Linked DNA regions of Homo sapiens: region 1 is linked to region 2. The links are contacts of gene promoters, found by promoter capture Hi-C in human tissues and cell types (Jung and others, 2019). All regions are on one chromosome and are shown on one strand. Each heading gives the region's core, a stretch centred on a gene start or on the middle of the fragment in contact. The rest is flanking DNA. Distances are from core to core; before and after follow the strand shown.

Evidence for each region. Contacts are between HindIII fragments. The study calls those that stand out against the background at their distance.
Region 1: a fragment that was not itself captured here is called in contact with the fragment with the promoter of TEX261 in region 2 in 3 of the 25 tissues and cell types used here (adrenal gland, psoas muscle and stomach).

The regions. Positions count from the first base shown.
Region 1 is chr2:71,027,172-71,033,819 of GRCh38, reverse strand. It overlaps the pseudogene OR7E91P. Among named protein-coding and RNA genes, the nearest start is that of TEX261, 36 kb to the right of the region's middle. The HindIII fragment of the contact is 6,692 bases long and covers 850-6,648 here.
Region 2 is chr2:70,990,635-70,996,743 of GRCh38, reverse strand. TEX261 (testis expressed 261) reads left to right here and starts at 1,871. Exons shown (of 6, transcript NM_144582.3): 1 at 1,871-2,056; 2 at 2,969-3,048; 3 at 4,761-4,914. The coding sequence starts at 1,987. RefSeq lists an enhancer at 1,060-1,109 and silencers at 1,650-2,179, 2,210-2,299. The HindIII fragment of the contact is 31,120 bases long and covers 1-6,109 here.

The sequences.
Region 1 (6,648 bases), core at 2,946-5,445, 35 kb before region 2:
TCACTGACGAGAATGTCTTCAAGGTTCATCCGTGTTGCACCCTGTGTCAGAAGTGCCTGTCTGGTTGTTTGAGTGTTTTGTTTTGATTTTTTTGTTTTGTTTTGTTTTGTTTTGTGTTCACATGGAGTCTCACTCTGTCGCACAGGCTGGAGTGCAGTGGCACAATCTGGGCTCACTGTAACCTCCACCTCCCGGGTTCAAGCGATTCTTGTGCCTCCGCCTCCCGAGTAGCTGGGACTATAGGCACACGCCACCACGCTCTTCTAATTTTTTGCATTTTCAGTAGAGACAGGGTTTTACAAGATGGCCAGGCTGGTCTTGAATTCCTGACCTCAGGTGATCCGCCCACCTCGGTCTTCCAAGATGCTGGGATTACAGGCGTGAGCCACCGCACCGGCCGGAAGTGCCTGCCTTTTTAAGGCTGAATAGTCTTCCATCGCATGAATGAACTGCAGTGTGCTTTTTCATTCATCTGTCCACGAACCCTTGGGTTGCTTCCACGTTTTGGCTGTTGTGAATAATGCTGCCAAGAATTTGGGTGTACAAATCTCTCTTCCACTCCTGGCTTCTAATTCTTTTTGGCAGGTACCCACAAGCGCAACTGCGGGAACATCCGCTAATCCTGTTTCTACTTTTTCCGGTACACGCCATACTATTTTCCCGGTTCCATCACGGTTTTACATTCCCTCCAATCAGATTCGAGCATTCCTACTTCCCTCTAGTTTCACCAATGCTTGTTTGTTTATCATATCCATCCAAATGTGTGGTATCACATTCTTGGTTTGATTTGCGCTTCCCTATGATTAGTGATTTTGAACATCATTTTAGATGCTTATTGGCCATCGCTATATCTTCTTTAGGGACACGTCTACTCGAGTCTTCTGACCATTGTGAATGGGATGCTTTGGGTTTCTTGTTGTTCAGTTCTAGCTGTTCTTTGTACATGATGCATATCAGCCTCTTTTCAGAGATATGATTTGCAAATATTTTTCCTAATCCATGGGTTATCTTTTCACTCAGTTCACAGTGTTTGCTGATGCACAAAAGTGTCTGTCATTTAGATGTCATCCAAGGAATCTAATTTTCTTTTGTTGCCTATGCTTTTGGTGTCATATCCCAGAAAGCATTGCCCAATCTGATGTCATGAAAGTGTGACCAATGTTTTCTTTTAGGCATATTATACTTTCAGCACTTGGGGTTAGGTCTTTGACCCAGTTTGTGTTAATTTTTGCACCTGGTGTGACATAGAGTCCACCTTCATTCTTCTGCATGTGGAAATCAAGTTTCTCCAACACCATTTCTCGAAAAGGCTGCTTTTCCACCAATGGACTTTCTTAGCACTCATGTGAAAAATCATTTGAACATATAGGTGAGAAGTTATTTCTGGGCTCAAAAACAAACAAACAACAACAGACAACAGAGAAGGATGCAGCATGGGCCGGGTGCGGTTGCTCACGCCTGTAATCCAAGCACTTTGGGAGGCCGAGGCGGGCGGATCACCTGAGGTCAGGAGTTCAAGACCAGCCTGACAGACAGGAAGAAACCCCTGTCTCTACTACAAATACAACATTAGCTGGGTGTGCTGGGGCATGCCTGTAATCCCAGCTGCTCAGGAGATGGAGGCAGGAGAATCGCTTGAACCCAGGAGGCAGAGGTTGCGGTGAGCCAAGAATGCACCATTACACCCCAGCCTGGGCAACAAGAGTGAAACTCTGTCTCAAAACAAAAAACCAAAAACAAAAAATCCAGCATGATTTCGAGAGCAGAAAGAGAATAGCTGGAAAACCAGCATAATGAGAAAGTTAGGAAACTTCTTACCAAAGCATCTGGAAATATGCAAGAAATTCTTGTGAACTAAAATTTTCATACTGTACTATCAAACATTAGAACTCACTTATTCCATCTTTCTGTATTTGGGGACCCAATTATCCACTTCTCTTCATTTCCCATCCCACCCCTTTTCTTCCTAGCGTCTGCTAACCACCCTTATACTTTCCACCTTCCTGAGATTCCTTTTGTGTGTAGGTGTGTGATGGAGTCTCTTTCTGTTGCCCAGGTTGGAGTATACAGGCACAATCCGGGCTCACTGCAACCTCCACCTCCCAAGTTCAAGCGCTTCTTGGGCCTCAGCCCTCCGAGTAGCTGAGACTACAGGCACGCGTCACCACGCCCAGCTAATTGTTTGTGTTTTCAGTAGAGACGGGGTTTCACCATGTTGGCCAGGTGGGTCTCGAACTCCTGGCCTCAAGTGATCCGTGCGACTCGGCCTCCCACAGTGCTGGGATTACAGGCCTGAGCCACCACACCTGGCCAAGATTTTCTTTTCTGTTCCTACCTAGAAGTGATGATATGAAATATTTGTCATTCTGTGCCTAGCTTATTTCACTTAACATACAGACCTGCAATCTCATCCATTTTGTCTGCAGTGGAGAGGATTTCGTTTATTCCTTTTTAGGCTGAATAATACTTCATTGTGTGTGTATACCACAGTTTCTCAATTGAAACAAATTTCTAAAAACCAAATGTTTTTAACATGTCTCGGAATGTGAAACTTCAGGGATACTGTGCCCGTTTTATTCTTTTCTATTTCCCATCTTATGTATATGCAAGTGTATAACAAAGCAGCAATCAAAGTGTGTATAAATCTATAATTTCAACAAATGTAAAATGAAAATGCTAAGTGGTGGCTGGGCGCGGTTGCTCACGCCTGTAGTCCCAGAACATTGGGAGGCGGAAGTGGGAGGATCACCTGAGGTTGGGAGTTCAAGACCAGCCTGACCAATATGGAGAACCACTGTCTGTACTAAAAATACCAAAAAACAAAACAAAACAAAACAAACAAACAAACAAAAAAAAACTTAGCCGGGCACGGTAGCGCATGCCTGTAATCCCAGCTACTTGGAAGGCTGAGACAGGAGAATCACTTGAATACGGGAGGCAGAGGTGGCAGTGAGCCGAGATCGTGCCATTGCACTCCAACCTGGGCAACAAGAGTGAAACTCTGCCTCAAAAGGAAAAGAAAAAAAAAAAGAAAAGAAAAAGAAAAAAATAGAAAATGCTAAATGGTAAGAAACAACAGCATAATAAACATTTGTATGGTGTTGATGGACAATGCATTTCAGGATAATATTTGAAGAAATCATATTACAATTAACTTCTGTTCTTACTCATTAGAGCTTGATGCCTCTAAAAACTTTGTCATTGCAAGCACCTCTGGTGCTTTAAAAAAAAAAAAAAAAAATCCACATACTCACACAGGTGCAGGGAAATCAGAATCTCAGGTAATGAGACCCAGGCCTCATCAATTGTAAGCTCCTCAGGTGATTTGACTCAAAGCCAAACTTGAGGACCAGTGACATGGATCTCTACACATAACCTGCCCAAATAGATTCTCTAGAAGCAGTTTATAAAGAAATTCCACATGAACTCTGGAAGAGGATATGAATTTGATATACAGTATGTCCTCACTTAACATCTTTGGAAGTCTCTTGGAAACTTCACCTTTAAGCAAAATTAGGTAGAGTGAAACCAGTTATTCCTCACCAACATTATAACTACACAACTTTGAATGCACCAATGGTGTTGGAGGACCTGCTGTACATTGCTTCCATAAAGTCAATTTTCAGGGAATTCCAAAATGAAGTGAGGACTTCACGTATATAAAAAGAAGGTTGTGATTCCACCTGGATGACAGGGTTATTGCTCAGAAACTAAAGGAGGCCACCTAGGTATAGAGGATTCAGTCATGAGGTTTCTGCTAAACAAAGGATCCCAGAATCCTCACCCCTTCCAGTTAAAGGCATAACGAAGAAAACAATATTCACATAGGAAACGCGGAAAGAAATAAAAGCCATCAAGCCACAAAAATAATGTGACTAAGGGGCAGGATTTGCAGATGTAGGGATTTAATGTGCTTGCCCTTTCTTACCCACACAAGAAAAAGGATGGAACAGATCATGAGATTTGACTGTTCTGCTGCGCAGCCTCCACAGGGCGCTTTGAATGTCCCTGTTTCTCAGGCTGTAGATGAAAGGGTTCAGCATGGGGGTGACCACAGCATACGTCACTGACGCCACCACACCATTCCTGAGGGGTGGTGCCACAGCTGAAGTCAGGTACACGCCAATGCCTGTTCCATAAAATAAGCAAACAACTGGCAGGTGAGAGCCACAGGCGGAGAAGGCTTTATACTACCCATCTGACGATGAAATCCTTAGAATGGAGGGGACAATTTTATAGTAAGACAAAAGGATCCCTGAAATGGGAAGAAAACCAAACATAGTACTATCGAAATATATGAACATGCTATCGATGATGCTGTCAGAACAGGCAAGCTTGAGAGGTTGAGATGGGTCACAGACAAAATTAGAGATTTCCACATTCTTGAAGAAGGTGAATTGCAACACAATCCAACTGCGCAGCTGGGAATCCAACAGGCTAAGGAAAAGGACACCGAAACTAAGAAGACACAGAGGTGAGGATTCACGATGACTGGGTAGTGCAGAGGGCGACAGATGGCTACAAAACAGTCATAGGCCATCACAGTCAGGAGCATGTCTTCTACACATGCAAAAAGGACCAAGAAAGACATCCGTGTCAGGCAGTCCGCATAAGAGATGACTCCGCTATGCGACCGCATGTCCACAATCATCTTGGGAACCGTGGCCGAGGTGAAACCGATGTCAGCCCAGCACAGGTTGGAGAGGAAGAAGCACATTGGGGTGTGGAGGTGGGAGTCAGAGCTGACAGCCAGGCTGATGAGGAGGTTCCTCAGCACCGTGACCAGATACATGGACAGGGACAGCCCAGCGAGGATGGGCTGCAGTTCTGGATCCTCTGAGAGTCCCAGGAGGAGGAGTTCTCAGGCTCCTGTGAGATTCCGTGGCTCTGTGTGACTTGGACACCTTGGGAAGAAAAGAAGGTTGGAAAAATAAAAGATAAAAACCAGCCCTTAATGCTGTGTGTATATTTTGGATGCAAGCAATTCACAAGGAACATTTTCACACTTGAGGACCATACACCGTCAGCAATATTTCTCAGTTGTGACAAACCCAAAAATCCCAGAATTATTCCATGATGATTTACTGTTTTCTATTCAACTCCTTCTGTATGTACTACTTTAGAGAAAATCCACTGAAGAATGTTAGAAGACCAAAACATAATATATAACAAATCCGTGATCTCAGTAAAATACGGCCTACTCTTTTCAGAAAGAATAAAACGCAATGAAGATGCTCTTCTGTCTTTAAGAAAAAGATGTCAGCCTAATTGAAAGAAATTAAGAAGCAGTGAAATACACTCTGTTTTATTCTGACACCGTGCGACAAATTCCTTTGATGTAGAATATGGAAAAGGATGATACAAGAGCTAGGACCGCATTATCTAAAAATGAAATCGAAGCTTAGAGTTCTTTATCTGAAGACCTTTTAACATGCCAGTTACTTTTCATATTTATTATCATCCTTAGGTTTTCTGACATCATTTCTTCATAAAAGTACATGCACACTCAAATATGGGAGCTGTGTTTCCAAATTAATTGAATATATAACTCTTGGCCGAGCGCCATGGCTCACACCTGTAATCCCAGCACTTTGGGTGGCCGAGGCCGACGGATCACCTGAGGTCAGGAGTTCCAGACCAGCTTGGCCAACGCGGTGAAACCCCATCTCTAGTGAAAATAAAAAACAATTAGCCGGGCCTGGTGGCGGGTAACTCTAGCTACTCGGGAGGCTGAAGCAGGAGAATCCCTTAGAACCTGGAAGGCAGAGATTGTACACCCTGTGATATTATTTTGGATATCCTAGGGGGATATTGCTCCTGACATCAGAGTGGGCGTACACCCTGTGATATTGTCTGTGATATCCTAGAAAGATGTTGCTCCTAATATCACAGTGGCTGCACACCCTGGGGTATTAATTGTAATATCCTACAGAGATATCACTCCTAATAATACAGTGGGTGTACACCCTGTGATATTATTCATAATATATTATGGAGATACGACTCCTGATATCACAGTGAGTGTACACCCTGTTTGTACGCCCTGTGATATTATTTGTAACAACTTAGAAAAATATTACAGCTAATATCAAAGTGGGTGTACACCCTGTGATGTTCTATGTTATCTACTCGGTAGATATTACTCCTAAGATCACAGTGAGTGTACACCATGTGTGTACACACTGTGAAATTATTCGTAATAACCTAGGAAGATATTACTCCTGATATCACAGTGGGTGTACACCCTGTGATATTATTTGTAATCACCTAGGGAGATACGACTCCTAATATTCCAGTGGGTGTACACTCTGCGATGTTCTTTGTAATGTCCTAGGAAGATATTACTCCTAATATCAAAGTGGATGTACACCATGTGTGTACACTCTGTGATATAATTCGTAATATCCCAGAGAGATATTTCTCCTAATATCACAGTGGGTGTACACTCTGTGATATTATTCATACTATCCTAGAGAGATATTGCTCCCAGTATCACAGTGGGTGCACACCCTGCGATGATATTCATCATATCCTAGAGAGACATTACCTCTAATATCACAGTTTCTGTACACCCTGTGGTATTATTCATAATATCCTAGGGAGATATTATTCCTAACATCACAGTGCGTGTACACCATGGGTGGACAC
Region 2 (6,109 bases), core at 622-3,121:
ATAGCTCACTGCAGCCGCCATCTCCTGGACTCAAGTAATCCTCCTGCCTCAGCCCAGAGTAACTGCGACTACAGGTACGCACCACCATGCCTGGCCATTTTAAAATTTTTCTTTGCCCAGGCTGGTCTTGAACTCCTGGCCTCAAGTGATCCTCCTACCTCAGCCTCCCAAAGTACTGGGATTACAGGCATGAGCCACTGTGCCCAGCCTGCTTTGTAATCTTTTTTTTTTTTTTTTTCTTGAGACGGAGTCTCGCTCTGTCGCCCAGGCTGGAGTGCAGTGGCGCAATCTCGGCTCACTGCAACTTCTGCCTCCCGGGTTCACGCTCTTCTCCTGCCTCAGTTTCTTGAGTAGCTGGGACTACAGGCGCCCGCCACCAAGCCCGGCTAATTTTTTGTATTTTTAGTAGAGACTGGGTTTCACCGTGTTAGCCAGGATGGGCTTTGTAATCTTATGTATTTTGTTGGGGGGAGGGGGAAGCTATGCATAACATAAAATTGACCGTTTTAACCATTTTACAATTCTGTAACACTGTATACAATTCAGTGACATTAAGCACATTCACACTGTTGTGATGCCATCAGCACCATCCATCTTCCCAAACTGAAACCCTGTATCCATTAAAAAGTAACTCCCCATTCTTTGTCCCCCAGACCCTGGCAAGCACCATTTAACTTTCTGCCCATGATTTTGACTACTCTGGGTACCTCATATGAGGGGAATCATACAATGTGTGTCCTTCCCTATTTGGCTTATTTCACTTAGCATCATGCCTTCAAGGTTCATTGATGTTGTAGCATGTGTCAGAATTTCACTTCATTTTAAGGCTAGATAATATTCCATTGTATGTTTATAGCACTTTATGTCTATCTTTTCGTCAACCGATGGACATTTGGGTTGCTTCCCTCTTCTGACCATTGTGAATAATGCTATGAATATTGGTATACAAATGTCTCTGCTTTCTCAGTTCTTTTGGGTATATACCCAGAAGTAGAATTGCTAAATCATACGGTAATTGTTTTTTTTAGGAATACGTATTTTTATGCAGGAAAAATATGATTCTGAAATAAGCCTACTAGACTCTTGTTCTACATACTTTATTTTGCATGCCTGTCTCCGCCACTAGATGGGAGACTTGTTGACAAGGACTAACCGGTTCCAGGTGCCCCTCAGGAACCCTCCCAGAGGTGTAGTAAATGCATCCAGCGCCTAGCGGACGCCCTGCGTGCCCGGCAAGGGGTGAGGTGCAGGCGATACAAAGGTGCAGAATGTACCCCAAAAGAACAGCCTAGAGGGGAATTAGGCCGGAGGATGACCGATTAAAATCACCCCAACTCCTGATTGTGCCGCTTCCTAGGTGCATGACCCAGGGCAACTTCCTTTGGCCCCGGCTTCCCCGTCTATAAAATGATTTACATTATCTGCTCAAATTTCCGACAAGAACACACCTCGCCTTTATCACAGAGCGTGGCACATATTAGGAATTCAATAATTTTGTCCCTATCACCTGCGATAGCAAGAGACAGACTTGTCCGCAACCTGCCGGGAGGCAGGTTCTGGGGAGGTTGCTGGGGCGCGGTCGGGCGGCCCTGTCCGGCCCTGGACCACCTCCAGGCTGGTACGGGAGTGCACAGGGAGGGACTGGAGGCTGCACTCCGAGCCCCAGTATGGGCGCTTGGTCGTCTCCGCCCCTGGGCACCGTCCCGCCTCCCTCTGGCTGCAGCGGTCTGCATTCATTCCCCTCAGTGGAGCGGGGGATCCTGGCGGGGCAGCGGCGGTTGGCCCTCCTCTCCGGCGGGCGGCGCTAGCGCGAGCCTGGCCCCGGGCAGCGCTAGGGCCGGGCTCCTCTCGGCGGCGGCGCACCGTCGTCCTGTCGTCCGCGGGGCGGGGACGCGGCGGCGGCGGCGGCGGTGGCGGCTGTGTGTCGCCGGAGCCGAAGCGCGCAGGCCCGTCCCGGTGGCCGGGGAGCGGGCGGGTGGGGGCGCCATGTGGTTCATGTACCTGCTGAGCTGGCTGTCGCTCTTCATCCAGGTGGCCTTCATCACGCTGGCTGTCGGTGAGACTGCACGACCCCGGCCCGCGCGGGCTCCCGCCCCGGCATCGGTGCTCGTTGGGGGTCGCATCGCGGGGGTTTCGGAGCCACTCGGGGGACCACTGCCCGGCGCTCCCGGCCTTCGCCGCCCCAACCCCTTCCCGCCTGATCCTGCCCCTCCTGTCGAGCCTGGCAGCCCGGCCTGACCGTGGCTCCTTCCAGGTGTCACAGAGTCCGCTCCGGCACTGCCCGAGAAAGGGTGACTCGAGTGCCGCCCCCGCGTCTGCGGACCGCTAACCGCTGCGGCTCCCACTCTTCGCGGGCCTGCCGCGCGGAACTTTTCCCCAACGCCTACCGCCGCCTTTGCGCCTCTGGCCCTTCATGCTCCCTGCTCTCTCCACCTTTGACACTTCTCCTCTGGCTGGTTCCCATTCGGCCTCAGTTGAGATGTCATCTTTTCCGGGAAGTCCACAGGGGTTGATGGTCCAGCAGTGCCCTGTCCTTTCCCTAAAGTAGCATTTCTCACACTAAACTCGTCTGTCTCTCCCTACTGTTCCCCTTCCCTTTCCCAAGCTGGGTCAGGGAAGGACCCTTGTCTGTCTTTTTCAGCTGTATTCTCAGCCCAGGGACCTGGCTCATGCCAAGTGCCCAGCAGGTGTTTATTGAATACGTGAAATTCCGTTTTCTGAGCCAGAGGTTATCATTGTACTGTGGCATCAAATGCAGACTTTCGTTGATTTTTATGAGATTTGTCCTTAGTTGCCCTAAGAAAGTTTTACTTCTCCAGACTTGGAAGGGCAACACATGGGATGTTTGGTTTGTTCTTGACCTTCTGGGGTCCATGAAGGGTGGATGGGGACTGGGCTGCAGAGAGAGGGGTGACCAGGATGGTGGGAGTGACCCTGGCTGATAGTCTCCCTGCCTCCCACCCTGCAGCGGCTGGACTCTATTACCTGGCAGAACTGATAGAAGAATACACAGTGGCCACCAGCAGGATCATAAAATACATGATCTGGGTAAGTGGCATCTTTCTCCAGGAGTCCTCCTCACTCTTTTGCCCTGCCTCAAAAGCAGGAAGTGGGGAGAGTTTGGCATGGATGATGAGGCCTGTGTCTCTGCTGTTTCCTGAGCATACACTCTTACCTCCTTGCCCTGAACGCTGTCTTTTGGGTCTGCACTCCTGGGCCCAGATCTTCCCTGGCCGCCTTCCCCAAGTGGCATTGTTTCACTGCAGGCCTTGTGCTCTAGTCCTTAAGGTGACAGCGAAGTGTACTTCTCTGTTGACAAGACCGTAGATTTGACTTTGCTTAGCTCTCTCCCGCTGTCTTTAGCCCTTTGCTCTGCTCACAGCATTTAAAACTTAGAGGAGCCATAAGACAGTTTTGCATATATGTTCATTGCCATCTTTCTAATCGGATCAAGTGATTTGTCCTAAGATCGGCACAGCTTCGCTGCCCTCGCCCTTCCCTGGTCTCATGGGAGGCTTCTCTTACTGAAGACACAGTCCTTGCCACTGATATCAAAGCCATAGGGGTGACTGCTGGTGGACAGACTTCCTTCAGCTGCAGGAAAGGCTGGGGGTAGGGGTGCCATTGGAGAGAAAGCGTCCACAGCCCCTCAAGTCGCCTGGTGTCAGCAGCCATGTGCACTCTGGGCATGGCTGAGGTTGGGAGTTCACAGTGGAGGCAAGACTATAGCCCTCAGCTCTGGTCCAGAGGCCCAGCTTGTGGGTGTTGGCACAGTAATTAGCCCTTCATTCAGCCAACTGTCATTTGCTAAGCACTGACAACTGTAGGTACTTATCAGTAGTGTTTTTCAAACTGTAGGCATGATTCATTATTTGGCTGTATAGTAGGTCACAATCAGCATTTTTTAAAAAAAGGAACATAAATAGAATTGAAATTTGAGCTTTGAATCATATATATGTATATATGTGTTGGGGTCACAGTGTAAAATGTTTTTCTTTTTCTTTTTTTTTTTTTGAGATGGAGTTTCGCTCTTATTACCCAGGCTGGAGTGCAGTGGCACAATCTCAGCTCACCGCAACCTCTGCCTCCTGGGTTCAAGCGATTCTCCTGCCTCAGCCTCCCGAGTAGCTGGGATTATAGGCATGTGCCACCATGCCTGGCTAATTTTGTATTTTTAGTAGAGATGGGGTTTCTCCATGTTGGTCAGGCTGGTCACAAACTCCCAACCTCAGGTGATCTGCCTGCCTTGGCCTCCCAAAGTGTTGGGATTCCAGGCGTGAGCCACCTCGCCTGGCAGATGTTTTTCTTACTGTGGGTTGCTGTCAAAAAGTTTGAGAAATGGGCTGGGTGCGGTGGCTCACACCTGTAATCCCAGCACTTTGGGAGGCCATCAGAAGTTTGAGACCAGCCTGGCCAACATGGCAAAACCCTGTCTCTACTAAAGACACAAAAATTAGCTGGGCGTGGTTGTGCATGCCTGTAGTCCCAACTACTCAGGAGGCTGAGGCAAGAGAATTGCTTGAATCCAGGAGATCGCGCCACTGCACTCCAGCCTGGATGACAGAGTGAGACTCCGTCTCAAAAAAAAAAAAAAAAATGTTGCCTTTTGGGAGCAGAGAACCTAGCTGGGGAGGCCAGACCTGTGAAATGAGGAGATTGAAGCATGAACCTAGTGCTGCCCAGAGCGGGCTGGGGGTTGGTGAGTCCAGGAACGTTGCCTGGAAGAAGCGCCCTGCACTGTCTGCCTCTGGTTGTTTCAGTTCTCCACCGCTGTACTGATTGGCCTCTACGTCTTTGAGCGCTTCCCCACCAGCATGATTGGAGTGGGCCTATTCACCAACCTCGTCTACTTTGGCCTCCTCCAGACCTTCCCCTTCATCATGCTGACCTCGCCTAACTTCATCCTGTCGTGTGGTGAGAGGGGACAGAGTTGGGGAGGCAGCTGATGTGGTTGGGTGTGCCCATCTCCATCCTGGGCACTAAAGGGGATACAGAAAAAGGAAGCCAGCTGTTGAAGTCCTCCAGGAAGCCAGGCTAGTTGGGAAGATGCGGTTCTTACTGCTGAGGACTCTAGAGCCCACCTTGGCTCTAGTGAATAGAATTTGTTGGGGCTGGGGACTCAGACAGGGAGGGCTTTCCCAGAGAGGTAAGTTTGAAGGAGAGTTTGGGAAAGAAGAGGTTGTGGATTGGCTGAGGCAGGGCCCCCAACTGAGCAGTTCCAGCCTCAAAAAAACCACTTGGCCAGAAAAAGCCCAAAGCCCTTCCGGTAGGCAGGCAGCTGTCCGTCCAGTCCTCTGACCCAAAGTCATTGTTAGGACTGGAGCCTCATGGGGCTGTGAGCACCTTGCAGACTCTGGCCTGGTGTGAATGCCTCCTGGGGGCTGCAGCTTCTCATCTCATTCTCACTGGCTGCCGCTGCCTCGGGCTTGAGCCTGGATGTGGAGGACCCAGTCTTCTTGGCGTTGCCCTGCCACCACTTTCTGACCCTGGGGAATCATTGGCCCTCTCTGGGCCTTAGCTTCTCCATCTATTCAGAGAGGATGTTTCTGAAAGAACTATTGGGAGACTCAGTGGGCATATAGTAGGTGCATATAGGTATTTACAGATATTCCTGGAAAAGGCTTCGGAAAGTATTTTGGTTGCCAAGATTGCCATTGCTCCTGTTCATCATTGCTGGCTACCCTAGCTTTCAGTCAGGGTATCAGATGGAGTTAGGGGTTTTTTAGAGTGACTTTTCTATTTCTATGAGAGAGCCTGGAGGGTGAATATTATCCACACAAAGGGCATATTGTTAAAGCCAAAACTGGTTTCTTCCTTGGGTGTGATTTCACCAAAGAATTTGTTCAGCAGAGGTTTGTTAGGGAGCCCTTCCATGGAGACCAGGCCCCTCTGTCCAGGGAAGAAGTCCTGCCCCCAGCCCCTCAGCAGCAGGCTCCCCTGACTTCACTCCCTTGATCTGCCCTTTAATGCCTAAAAGAGTTTTTCCAAAAGATCTTGTGGGCACCAGGCACTATCCTACCTCCCATTATCTCTTAGCCCTAGAGTGTGGCTAGGCATAGCAGAACTGTAGTCTTTGCCTTAGAATGGGAGAGGCAGGAGAGAAGAAAGG